Linked DNA regions of Homo sapiens: regions 2, 3 and 4 are each linked to region 1. Evidence: promoter capture Hi-C in 16 types of primary human blood cells and fetal thymus (Javierre and others, 2016). All regions are on one chromosome and are shown on one strand. Each heading gives the region's core, a stretch centred on a gene start or on the middle of the fragment in contact. The rest is flanking DNA. Distances are from core to core; before and after follow the strand shown.

Region 1 (3,082 bases), core at 249-2,748:
CCTCCCATTTTCCCATCAGCTGAGCAACATTACCAGGTGCACCTTCCCCCAGGACTCCTGCTCCAACATTCACAAAGGTTTTCTGTCATCTTCTCTGACCAAGAAGCTCTGGCCTGGTGCCAAGATCTCTCACAGTCTGAGCCCCCTAGGCCCATCCATCTTTTTTTTTCTTTGTCCCGTGCCATCGTTTGGTGTCCTAGCGCCCTTCCCCAGGAAGGTTGGAGGAATAGTGGGTTACTCTGTATGGAGCAAATATGTGAATAAATAAAGCCTTAGATCTGTGCCTGGGTTCTGACAGTCTAGAGAACGCGCAGAAGAAAGTATTAATGCAATTAGGTCACAAAATTATTTGTCCTCTTTTCAGATGTTTCACATTGGTCCACAGTCACAAAGCTTTATTGTGATTGTGTAACAACTGGAGTAGTTGTGAAAACACTACCCTTTAAATGTTTGAAAGCAGAATGGGAAAAAAATGTTGAACTAGAAGGGGGGAAGCTACATTGAATTAAGTAGTAACTGTGCTCCAAGTCCAGGGACCACGGACAAGTGGCTTGGAAAGTGGGTTTTCCAGACTAGAGGGAGGGGTGAGAATGCCAGAGCCTGGGGCTCACGGTGAGCTGGCCTCCAACCGGGTGGGTTTTCCCACCATTGTATGCTCCTTTCCCTGTCGCCAGCTTGGGGAGGGTCCCCAGGGGAGCCCTGGGCTTAAGGCAGTGGTGTTATGCAGAGTCTGTAACGTTGTCATTGGTAAATGATGCACAGGGTAGTTACACAAGCCCAGATCGATGGACGACTCAGGCAACGAATCGATCACTTTTCCGGGGAGAATTCACCCTTTATGACCTGCAGAGGGTCAGGTGGTTCGTCCAAAGAGGCTCTGGCTTGAAGGATTTAAAGCTGGCCTTTTCCCCATTCCCATCTCCTCCTCGGGGGCCTGGGCAGTAACAGCCGGGTAATAAACTACTTCTCATTAAAGAGATCTGGGGGTGGAAGTTGTAGGGGGACATAAAAGTGGGGACAAAAAGGCACAAATCCGCTCCGAGGCGGAAAGCCAGGATGGGGGCGCGCGGGGCTCACTTTCCCCGCTCCCTCTCCCCCCGAAGCCACCCTGAGTTTTTGTGCCTAGCGAACTAGCCCGGTGCTGCGCCAGGCCGCTGGCTGCGCGCTGGGCTCGGGTGGGGGCTCGTCGGCCCGCCCCTGCCACTGGGGCCGGGCTGCAGCCCCCTCCCCGTCGCCCCGAGCCCCTCCCCCGGCCCGGAGCCCCTCCCCGCGCGCTTCCCCTCTCTCCCCTCCCTCCCTTCCCTTCCCTGCCTGCCAGGCCCTGCCTCCGCCTCCTGCGCCCACAGCCTCCGCCAGCGCCGATCCCCCCGGAGCCCGAGCCGGAGAGCGGCGAAGGGGAGCCGCCGGCCCCTCCCCAGGACGCTGACAGCAGGCTCCGGGGCCCCCGCCCCGTCCCCTCGCCGACGGGACACACCCCCGCCCCTCCTCTGCTCCGCCAGTTCCCGCCGGACCCACCGGGCGGCGGAGAGAGCGAGCGGGCGAGCGCAGCGCGGCGGCCGCGCGGGAGTGAAGGGGCGCGCGGCAGGCCGGCGGGGAGTCCCCCGGGGCGCACGGAGCCCGCGCGCCCTCCGGGACCCTCCCCCGTCCCTGGGCCGGACCTGTGGGCGCCGGGAGTCCGGGCAGCGTTCGGCGCGCCGGGCCGGGGTGGCGGGCGGCCCCGGGACCCCGGCAGCTGGAGAAGGAGCCGGAGCCCGGCCGGGATGAGAAGGTGACGCCGCCGGGGGCGCCACTCGCTTTGTGGGGGAAGATGCTCGCCTACTGCGTGCAGGATGCCACCGTGGTGGACGTGGAGAAGCGGAGGAACCCCTCCAAGCACTACGTGAGTACAGCCCCCGCCGACCCTGCTGGGGGTGGCCCGAGGTCCCGGGAGGGCCCCGGATGGCCCCTTGCCCCTCCCAGCTGTGAGGTCGCGAAGCTAAGCGCCCACTGGGCAGCCAGCAGCCGTGGAGTTTCTTCGCAGGGCTGTGATCTCCAGGGAAGCCTCTTCTGTCCTTCCTCCTTCGCACCCCCGCCCCCCCGGTTTCTTTTTTTGGCATTGGAATTGGCAAGTGGCTGCCCTTGTCTGTTACAACGGTGAAGTCATCTGTCCGCCTTTGATGGATGGTGGGGGGAGCTTTCGTCAACCCCTCACAGAGCAGCCCCGTCGGGAAAGCGCATCTCCTCGGCCCTCCCCAGGGGCCCTGGGCGCTCACGCTCACACAGCCCGAGATGCTTTCAGAGCTCGCCCTGGAGAAGGAAGCCTCGCGCCCTGCCTCCCACGCCAGCTCTGTCTCTGCCTTCCTAGGCCTGGGGCTGGGGGCAGAAGGAAGCCGCCGCCCCCTTGCCCAACCTCCACCCTCCGCGCTAAGCTTTGATTTCCCTCATAAAGCCATTGTGTCCGTCGGTGTGAGGAGAATTGTGGCTTTTCCTTTTATCCCTCCTCTGGACGTGACCCTTAACCGGGTTCATTTCCTCTTAAGTGATGCTCCATCTCCAGACACGAGGAGGCGAATGTTTGCTGTGGTCTCCGAGGAACCGCCCCTCCCCCTTCCTCCCCCAAACTTTAATGAGAAGGGGTTAAGGTTGACTGGGGCAGCTCCAGAGCCTATGTGACAGTTCCCCTTTCATCTCAGCCGGTCCTGTCTTCCCATCCCTCACACCTTAGGAAGTAAACACGGTGTCCTTGACCCCTCTGAGCGTCTGTGCTCCTGTACTTGAGATAGAAGAGACCCAAGCACAGAGGACTGCATGTTATTTGCAAATTGGGTATTTAGAGGAGCAGTTCCAGTGCTCAAAGCATTAATCTTAACAGTTAAAACAGGCGCTGGTTGCTGCCCTGGATTGTACATTGATCTCTGAAGTGCCTTTTCTTCCACTGTTGCAAAGGGACTGGGGTTTGTGGCAATGTCAGCCTCGGGCTACTCTTTTTGCCTTTGTCACCAGTGTAGCTCTGAACTTTGAGTTTCTTTACAGCTGAGCAAATGCGGCTGGGCTCATATGGGGAGGAGGTAAATGTGGAGGCAGGTTGACTAGGCAGGGAGGT
Region 2 (3,082 bases), core at 257-2,756, 250 kb after region 1:
GAACTCCTGGGCTCACGCTATTTTCCTGCCTCAGACTCCCAAGTAGCTGGGACCACAGGTGCATAACACCATGTCCACCTAATTTTTGTGTGTGTGTGTGTATGTGTGTGTGGTAGAAATGGGGTCTCACTATTTGCCCAGGCTGATCTCAAACTCCTGGCCTCAAGCAGTCCTCCCACCTGGGCTTCCCAAAGCACTACGATTACAGGAGATTTCTCTGCTTTTTAATTTTCATTTTGAGATTCAGCTATTGAGGCATCTGAAAACTAGACCTCCAGAGATGTAAGATTAGAAATTACTGCATTAATAATGAGCATTTTGTGCTGGGCACAGTGGCTTATGCCTGTAATTCCAGCACTTTGGGAGGCTGAGGCAGGAGGATTGCTTGAGCCCAGGAGTTTGAGACCAGGCAAAACCCTGTCTCTAGTTTTTTTCTCTTTTTTTTTTTTTTTTAAAGAATAGAATAATTTAATTAAAATGTGCAATATTTTGATGAAGAAAAATCACAAAAATGAATTGAAGGCCTGGCAGAATGGAAATAAGGTACATTTATGGATGAGAAGACTCGGTATTATTCAATTTTATCCCTAATCTGTAAATTCGATGAAATTCTAATTTAAATCCCAACACAATTTTTCTTTTTTTTTTTTTTTTTTTTCTTGACATGGAATGGTGTCTTTATTTTTGGGGGCTGCTGTAACAAAGTACCACACACTGGGTGGCTTAACAGCAGAAACGTGTTGTCTCCCAGTTCTAGGGGCGAGGAGATCAGGGTGCCGACAGGGCCTCGTTCCCTGGGAAGGCGTGGGAGGAGGACCTGTTCCCCGCCTCTCTCCCGGCTTCCGGGACTCCGGAAGCCTGACTCCAGGCTTCACGTGGTGTTCTCCCTGCTGGTGGGTCTGCCTCTGTCCTGTGTTCTTTTTTTTTTTTTTTTTTTTAAATTGATCATTCTTGGGTGTTTCTCGCAGAGGGGGATTTGGCAGGGTCATAGGACAATAGTGGAGGGAAGGTCAGCAGACAAACAAGTGAACAAAGGTCTCTGGTTTTTCTAGGCAGAGGACCCCGAGGCCTTCCGCAGTGTTTGTGTCCCTGGGTACTTGAGATTAGGGAGTGGTGATGACTCTTAACGAGCATGCTGCCTTCAAGCATCTGTTTAACAAAGCACATCTTGCACCGACCTCAATCCATTTAACCCTGAGTGGACACAGCACATGTTTCAGAGAGCACAGGGTTGGGGGTAAGGTCACAGATCAACAGGATCCCAAGGCAGAAGAATTTTTCTTAGTACAGAACAAAATGAAAAGTCTCCCATGTCTACTTCTTTCTACACAGACGCGGCAACCATCCGATTTCTCAATCTTTTCCCCACCTTTCCCCCCTTTCTATTCCACAAAACCGCCATTGTCATCATGGCCCGTTCTCAATGAGCTGTTGGGTACACCTCCCAGACGGGGTGGTGGCCGGGCAGAGGGGCTCCTCACTGCCCAGTAGGGGCGGCCGGGCAGAGGCGCCCCTCACCTCCCGGACGGGGCGGCTGGCCGGGCAGGGGGCTGACCCCCCCACCTCCCTCCCGGACGGGGCGGCTGGCCGGGCAGAGGGGCTCCTCACCTCCCAGTAGGGGCGGCTGGGCAGAGGCGCCCCTCACCTCCCGGACAGGGCGGCTGGCCTGGCGGGGGCTGACCCCCACCTCCCTCCCGGACGGGGTGGCTGCTGGGCGGAGACGCTCCTCACTTCCCAGACGGGGCAGCTGCCGGTCGGAGGGGCTCCTCACTTCTCAGACGGGGCGGCTGCCGGGCGGAGGGGCTCCTCACTTCTCAGACGGGGCGGTTGCCAGGCGGAGAGTCTCCTCACTTCCCAGACGGGGCGGCTGGGCAGAGAGGCTCCTCACCTCCCAGACGGGGTCGCGGCCGGGGAGAGGCGCTCCTCACATCCCAGACGGGGCGGCAGGGCAGAGGCACTCCCCACATCTCAGACGATGGGCGGCTGGGCAGAGACGCTCCTCACTTCCTAGATGGGATGGCGGCCGGGAAGAGGCGCTCCTCACTTCCTAGATGGGATGGCGGCCGGGCAGAGACGCTCCTCACTTTCCAGACTGAGCAGCCAGGCAGAGGGGCTCCTCACATCCCAGACGATGGGCGGCCAGGCAGAGACGCTCCTCACTTCCCAGACGGGGTGGCGGCCGGGCAGAGGCTGCACTCTCCGCACTTTGGGAGGCCAAGGCAGGCGGCTGGGAGGTGGAGGTTGTAGGGAGCCGAGATCACGCCGCTGCACTCCAGCCTGGGCACCATTGAGCACTGAGTGAACGAGACTCCGTCTGCAATCCCGGCACCTCGGGAGGCCGAGGCTGGCGGATCACTCGCGGTTAGGAGCTGGAGACCAGCCCGGCCAACACAGCGAAACCCCGTCTCCACCAAAAAAACACGAAAACCAGTCAGGCATGGCGGCGCGCGCCTGCAATCGCAGGCACTCGGCAGGCTGAGGCAGGAGAATCAGGCAGGGAGGTTGCAGTGAGCAGAGATGGCAGCAGTACAGTCCAGCTTCGGCTCGGCATCCGAGGGAGACCGTGGAAAGAGAGGGAGAGGGAGACCGTGGGGAGAGGGAGAGGGAAGGGGAGGGGGAGGGGGAGAGCTTTTTTTTTTTTTTTTTTTTTTTTTTTAGCAAATTCTTCCAGATCCTGAGAGAGCCCATCTCTACCAAAAAAAAAAAAAAAAATTAACCAGGTGTGGTGGTGTGTGCCTGTAGTCCCAGCTACTGGGGAGGCTGAAGTGGGAGGATCACTTGAGCCCAGGAGATGGAGGCTGCAGTGAGCTCTGATTACTCCACTGCACTCTAGCCTGGGTCCCAAAGCAAGACCCTATCTCAGAGTAATGATGATGATGATGATGATGATGATGATGATGATGATGATGATAGTAATAGTAATGTGAGAATTTTGATAGCTCAGACAAGTCTTCCGTGAGTCCTGAGTATTATTAGAAAGCCTCATCAGAGTAGTCCCCTGGCGATATATACCCTGAGACTCCCATGATAGATACGTACTCAGGCCAGCTGCTGTCCAGCTGGTGTAAACGGCCATCCGCAC
Region 3 (3,082 bases), core at 208-2,707, 210 kb after region 1:
CAGCTGTGAAAGAAAATTGTCAAGTGGCATATTCACCCTCCTATCCTTTTCTCTGATGGACAGGGATGGGCTACCATCCAGTTTAGGCAGTAAGTTCTACTGGGGATAGTTAGGAGTCCGTCGGGTTTCTGAAATGGCTTAGAATAGTAACCCCTCTGCCCCCACCAGCCTATAGCCTGGAGACTTTTTTTTTTTTTTTTTTTGAGACTTGGTCTCACTCTGTCGCCCAGGCTAGAGTACAGTGGCATGATCACGGCTCATTGCAGCTATGACCTCCTGGGCTCAAGTGATCCTCCCACCTCAGCCCCCGAGTAGCTGGGACCACAGGTGCGTACCACTATGCCCCGCTAAATTTTTTAAACTACATTTTTAGTAGAGACAAGGTTTCACCATGTTTTCCAGGCTGGTCTTGAACACCTGGACTCAAACGATCTGCCCACCTCGGCCTCCCAAAGTGCTGGGATTACAGGTGTGAGCCACCGCACCTGGCCTATCCTTTTCAAAGCATTTTTCTCATCTATTATCTCAGAGTAACTCTCTAAGGGTAAGTAGGGCAGGTGGCTTTGTTTCCATTTTTCAAAGGAAACAGTTGAGACCTCAGAGCTTGCTTGTGGCCAGGCTTGGATTTGAACCAAGGTTCGGCAGATTCTTTTTTTTTTTTTTTTTTTTTTTTTGGGATGGAGCCTCGCTCTGTCGCCCAGGCTGGAGTGCAGTGGTGCAATCTCAGCCCACTGCAAGCTCCATGTCCGTGGTTCACACCATTCTCTTACCTCAGCCTCCCCAGTAGCTGGGACTACAGGTGGAGGCCACCACGCCCTGCTAATTTTTTTTTGTATTTTTTAGTAGAGATGGGGTTTCACCCTGTTAGCCAGGATAGTCTCGATCTCCTGACCTCGTGATCCGCCCGCCTCGGCCTCCCAAAGTGCTGGGATTACAGGCGTGAGCCACCGCGCCTGGCCTGGTCTGCAGATTCTTTACCCCAAGCTTCACCTGAAGAAGATCAGTGGTTCCCCGAGAGTGGGTCGTGCAAACATGTGCTGGGCGGACACAGCATTGAGTGGCATTGAATCTCGTCATGAGAAGTTTCTTTCCTTTCAGTTCTCTTTCACTCCACATTGGGTCAAGGGGAGAATCTCCATTTGGGGCTCCTGTGCTGTTAACATCTGTCAGACGCTGGCTGATGTCATTTGTTTGTTTGACCAAGAGCAAATCTGACCCAGGCTTAGAATCTTGCTAGAACTTGCCTTGCTCTCTTGTTGAACTTCATGGCATTGTTTCATTGTATGTGTTTTTCCGGAATCTCCCGTCTATACCTAGGAATGCTGGTTTTCCATCCACTGTAGCATAGGAAAATGTCTTTTTGAAATACATGTTTAAGTTTTAAAAAATAAAGTCAACTTAAATAAACACACTAAGATGACACTAGTGTAGGTGTTACTCAGGTTCATTGGTTCACCTGGCCGGAGGGCTTGGGGAATGCAGAGTTAAACGACCCCAAGTGGGACTCTGTCTCTTAGGCACCTAGGGTGCCCTCTGCCTCTTGTCTCCTAGGGTGACACCAGTGGCTCCCAAATTCCAACTGGGAAAGGAGCCTGGAAAAGCATCGGCATTCGTGGTGGCTGCTCCCCACACCAAGTAGAAGAATCCACGTTGTCAGAGAGCTGCTAACGTCAGGCGGTACTGGATTTTTGCAAGCCCTCTATTTAAAATTCCCCAGAAATTAAATAAGGAGGCTTTGGAGGGAGGAATGCCCTAGACAAATTGTGGAGTGGGTTTGTTTTGTTTATGGAGATGGTCTTTAAAGTCTAAATTGTCCCCGTTTTATTTTTGCCCAATTGAAGAGGGGCTGAACTCAGCTGGGAGGGAGGGGATGGTTGTCAGCCTACAGCTTTTAGTTGAAACCAAGTCCATTCTGGGGCCAAGAAGCTTCCATTTTTAGCAAAGAGAGAAAGGGGAAAAATATACAAACTCGTACATGTACGCATCTTAGGCACTGGAGTAAGCCAGTTAAATGGATAAGGATAATCTTTATATTTCAAGTGACCACAGCTCTCTTCTCCAGGCTGCAAATAGATCTATTAAGCACCAGGCACATTTCTGGGCACTTTCCATTCTTTTCTTTTCTTTTCTTTTTCTCCCCACAACACTGGTAGTAAATACATGCTGTTTCATATTCCCATCTCACCAATGAGAACTTAAGCCTCATTCTTCAGTCTCTTCCTTCAGCCAATCTGAAGGACCAGGCACCACACTAGTCTGACGTTGGCTTCCTAAAGCTGTAGTCCACCCAACACCATGATACAGGGGAGGATCTTAGGTGGCAGAGAGGCAATATCAATCCTTCTGCATCACACAGTGGGAAAAGTTTGTCTCATTGCAGTTCTCTTCCAAGCCTTCTGACTTATCTCAGTTTGATGTTCGATGATCTTTAACCCCTGTCTAGCAAATCTGTGTAGCAAAGAAAGAGCGGGCCACAGGCTCAGCCTCTTCATTTGTGGCACGGTTCAAATGTACTACATAGCTTTGTTTTCATCGTGTGTGCTTTTCTGGTTGGAGCCAGTGGTCCTCGTTGTTTATTCATGGTGGCAATCTGAAGTTTCCTTAGCAAATTTCTTTCTTGAAGTTAAAAAAAAAAAAAAAAGGCAAATTGCTTTAAATATACAGTCCATTTCCAGACTTATGATGGTGTGACTTACAATTTTTCAGCTTTATGATGGGTCATTGGGGGTATTAAGTACATTTTGAACTTGGGATATTGTCAACTTAACGATGGCTTTATCGGAACGTAACCCCACTGTAAGTCAAGGCACATCTGTATATGTTATATGAACCACAGTATATGTAATTCAAGGATATAGCAAAGGTTGTGTGTGGTGTGGAAATACCTGAGGTTTGGGGAAAGCAGATTCAGAGTCACTCTTGCCTGGCAAAGCCCTTGGGTGAGATCTCGTGCCAGAACGCTCTTTCAGCCTGGGTGTCCCTGCCTCGCCCTACCATGTGGGCTTAGAGGAGAGGCAACTTGGAGGCAAGCCTGAAAACCACCTCTCCATGAGGAGTGGGAAAAGCCACACCCTCGACTCTT
Region 4 (3,082 bases), core at 215-2,714, 210 kb before region 1:
TGTTAGTAATATTTGGCCTGGGGTAGGTAGGTGGGGGTATTAACAAATTTACTACGTTACAAAGAGTGTGGGAACCGAGGAAGTTTGGGAATCTGTTGGCAAAACCATTGATCATGAAAGTGGTTTGGGACTCTGGGGGCCGTCCTAAGCCAGGGGGCATCCCCCGTGCTCCCTGTACTCACCTGACCTTGGTTGCTTTCACAGTGTTTGGCATGCAGAACAATCTGGCCCCCAGCTTGACCACCCTGTCCCATGGCACCACCACCACTTCCACAGGTCAGTAGGCTAGGGTTGGAGCTTAGGCGCTGGAAAGTGACACCTCTTTGCAGCTACAACTCACTGAATTAGGAGACCCAAAATGTCCCTGAAAATCAGTCGACCTTTCCCACCAAAGACACAACACTCAAGATATCAATCTTGATCATTAACTGGCTCAGACATGAGTCAAGCACACAGGGAAGGCTGTCCTGTCAACAGCATCACCTTGTAAGGCATCACTTGTATGTTCCTGTGTCTCTCACAGCCAAACTGGTTAGGTTGGTGGTCTTGCCAGCTCACTGCTGTCCTTGACAGCCCACTGTCACTGCAAATCAATCATCTGGTTGATTTTATGGTGCACCCCCTACAGGTTGCCACCGCTGTGCCAACCTGGGGGTGACTGGGGACATGAAACCTAGGTCAGCCTTTGCCTCCAACTTGCCTGCTACTTAATTGGAAGAGAAAGTCTAACACACATGAGACAACGAGAGGCTCTATAAGACAATGGGAATAAGTGATAGGCCATGCAGAGCAGGTGTTAAGGGCTGTAGGAGTTCAGGAGAGAAGGAGATGCATGGGGGTCTAGGAGGACTTCCTGGAAGTAGCTAGAAGGATGAGGAGGATTATACCTAAGAACGTTCCATCTAAACCCTCATTACTGTCCCCATGGCTGGAGAGAGTTGATTCATCATCTGCTTCTCACTGGAGAGGGTCGGGGGTACCTCTCTGCCAGGGCTGATCAGGCTTCTCCTGAGTCACCTGGAACCACCCTCCCATGCTGACCCAGCTTCCTTTCTTGCAGCATATGGGGTGAAGAAAAACATGCCCCAGAGTCCTGCGGCTGTGAACACTGGCGTTTCCACCTCCGCCGGTGAGTGCTGCTCCCAGCTGCCAGGGTTCAGGCTGGTGCACAGGGAGGATTACTCTGCAGTAATCCTGCCTGTGTATCCTTCCAATACACATGGTATACTGGAAGAGGAAATAGGACCCATGAGTGGTCTTAGGCCTGCAAACGCAACTTGCCCCAAAGGCCTCTTGGATGTTTCCATGAGTGAATAAAGGTGAACATTCCCATGAATGTTCCTATCAGAAGGGGGCAGGAAGCTCCACCCTCCATACCTGCCTAGGGCCAGGCACTTGCACATTAGCCACTGCCCTTGACTGGAAGCCTTTGGCCTTCACCTGTTACATGCAGCTCATGGAGCCCTCAGAAACTGCTGGCACCCTCCCTGCTTTCTACAAAATCTATATCAACTTTGTCCACATATTTCAGCACCATACAGTGAGCTGTTTCCTCCATTGTTCTAATCCTAGTGTGTTGTCTTCCATTCAACAATTCATTTATTGGAAAGCCTTTACTGAGCACCTTCTTTGTATTAGATGGACAGTGTTCTAAGTGCTGACAGTACAGCAGTGAACACGACAGGATAGATTCCTGCCTTCACTAAGCTGATGTCAGTGGTGGAGGCAGACGACAAACACATAAAGTATGCAAGATAATTACAGAAAAGGATACAGATTATAAGGAAAGCAATAAGTAATGTGGTAGAGATAGGAGTGTGTGTATGAGGGTGAAGTGCTTTAGATGGGGTAGTCAGCTAAAGCCTCCTCAAGAAGGCAACTCTTAAGACCTGGAGGATAAAAATGAACCCAAGTTAGTTAAGGAAGGACTTACCTGACTGGGGGACTTTTACCCATTCAATAAAGATCCTATAATCTCCAGGAGGGGAGGCAGCCCCCATAAACCAGCCATCCAGAGCTTCTGACATTGACCCAAACTCTTGGTGGCCAGGCCCAGCCAGGCATAGAGGGTGTCCTTGGTCCCCAAGATGCTTCATAGTAACCACTGTCAGCAAGAACAAGAGACCCTCATACACACCTGCTAATTTACCTCCCTCCTCCTTCTCTTTCTTCTCCTTCCTCTTCTTGTCTTTTCTCCCCTCTCCCTTCTCCTGGCACATGTCCTTCCTTCTTACCCATTTTCTTTCTCCCCAGCCTGCACCACAAGTGTGCAGAGCGATGACCTTTTGCACAAGGACTGCAAGTTCCTGATCCTAGAGAAAGACAACACACCTGCCAAGAAGGAGATGGAGCTGCTCATCATGACCAAGGACAGCGGGAAGGTCTTTACAGCCTCCCCTGCCAGCATCGCTGCAAGTGCGTCAGATCCTGTGTGGCTTGGGTTTCAGAAGAAAGCCAAATAGTGTAGGAGACCAAATGTCCTAGCAAGGTGGTTTGGGACCCTATGAGTCATGAAACCATAGCCATCCCATTCTAATGAAAAGCACCTGTCTGAATAGTATGTTCCAGGGTCTGCCTTGAATGCAGATGAGCTGAGAAAATTCAGGCAAAGAGCTCTCAGAGAGGCATTTGGGCGACAGCAAGTCTAACCGCAAACACAGATCAGGGGAGATGAACCCCAGGAAAGAGGGGCTCTTCTTACCAGTCTAACCTAGACCTTCCCAAGCAGGGTAGTGGGCAAGGGCGGGGGGAACACAGGACAGAGTTGAGAGGTTGAGAAGAGAATATGCCAGGTTATAATGGGTTCTGTACATAGCTTCTTTTTCAGAAGACACCCTAAAAAAAGAAAAGCAAGCTGCCTACAATGCTGACTCAGGCCTAAAAGCCGAAGCTAATGGTAAGAACAAATATGATTGTTGTCCACCTTGACTTCAGCCAGGCCACATTTCATTTCATTGTCTTCGGAGACCTTGCTACTCAAAGTGTGGTCCACGGGCCAGCAGCATCAGCCACACCTGGGAGTGTGTTATAAAAGCAGGATCCCAGCCCTAGCTCAGATCTGCTGAGTCAGAAGCTGCAGTTC

Evidence for each region. The method cuts DNA at HindIII sites, captures the fragments that hold promoters and counts their contacts. A CHiCAGO score of 5 or more calls a contact.
Region 2: a contact is called between a fragment that was not itself captured here and the fragment with the promoter of SH3PXD2A in region 1, in 11 of 17 cell types (M0 macrophages, endothelial precursors, megakaryocytes and 8 more). The highest score is 12.7, in M0 macrophages.
Region 3: a contact is called between a fragment that was not itself captured here and the fragment with the promoter of SH3PXD2A in region 1, in 9 of 17 cell types (M0 macrophages, endothelial precursors, activated CD4 T cells and 6 more). The highest score is 6.9, in M0 macrophages.
Region 4: a contact is called between a fragment that was not itself captured here and the fragment with the promoter of SH3PXD2A in region 1, in 1 of 17 cell types (naive CD8 T cells). The highest score is 5.3, in naive CD8 T cells.

The regions. Positions count from the first base shown.
Region 1 is chr10:103,853,992-103,857,073 of GRCh38, reverse strand. It overlaps SH3PXD2A (SH3 and PX domains 2A), which reads left to right and starts at 1,498. Exons shown (of 15, transcript NM_001394015.1): 1 at 1,498-1,879. The coding sequence starts at 1,808. The HindIII fragment of the contact is 2,015 bases long and covers 396-2,410 here.
Region 2 is chr10:103,606,007-103,609,088 of GRCh38, reverse strand. All of the region lies in intron 13 of SH3PXD2A (SH3 and PX domains 2A), which reads left to right. Among named protein-coding and RNA genes, the nearest start is that of NEURL1-AS1, 90 kb to the right of the region's middle. RefSeq lists an enhancer at 868-1,725. The HindIII fragment of the contact is 4,461 bases long and covers 1-3,082 here.
Region 3 is chr10:103,641,707-103,644,788 of GRCh38, reverse strand. The region is part of intron 8 of SH3PXD2A (SH3 and PX domains 2A); the gene reads left to right. Among named protein-coding and RNA genes, the nearest start is that of SH3PXD2A-AS1, 100 kb to the left of the region's middle. The HindIII fragment of the contact is 942 bases long and covers 987-1,928 here.
Region 4 is chr10:104,059,452-104,062,533 of GRCh38, reverse strand. It overlaps COL17A1 (collagen type XVII alpha 1 chain), which reads left to right. Exons shown (of 56, transcript NM_000494.4): 12 at 205-276; 13 at 1,061-1,129; 14 at 2,254-2,415; 15 at 2,816-2,896. Among named protein-coding and RNA genes, the nearest start is that of MIR936, 13 kb to the right of the region's middle. The HindIII fragment of the contact is 3,253 bases long and covers 1-3,082 here.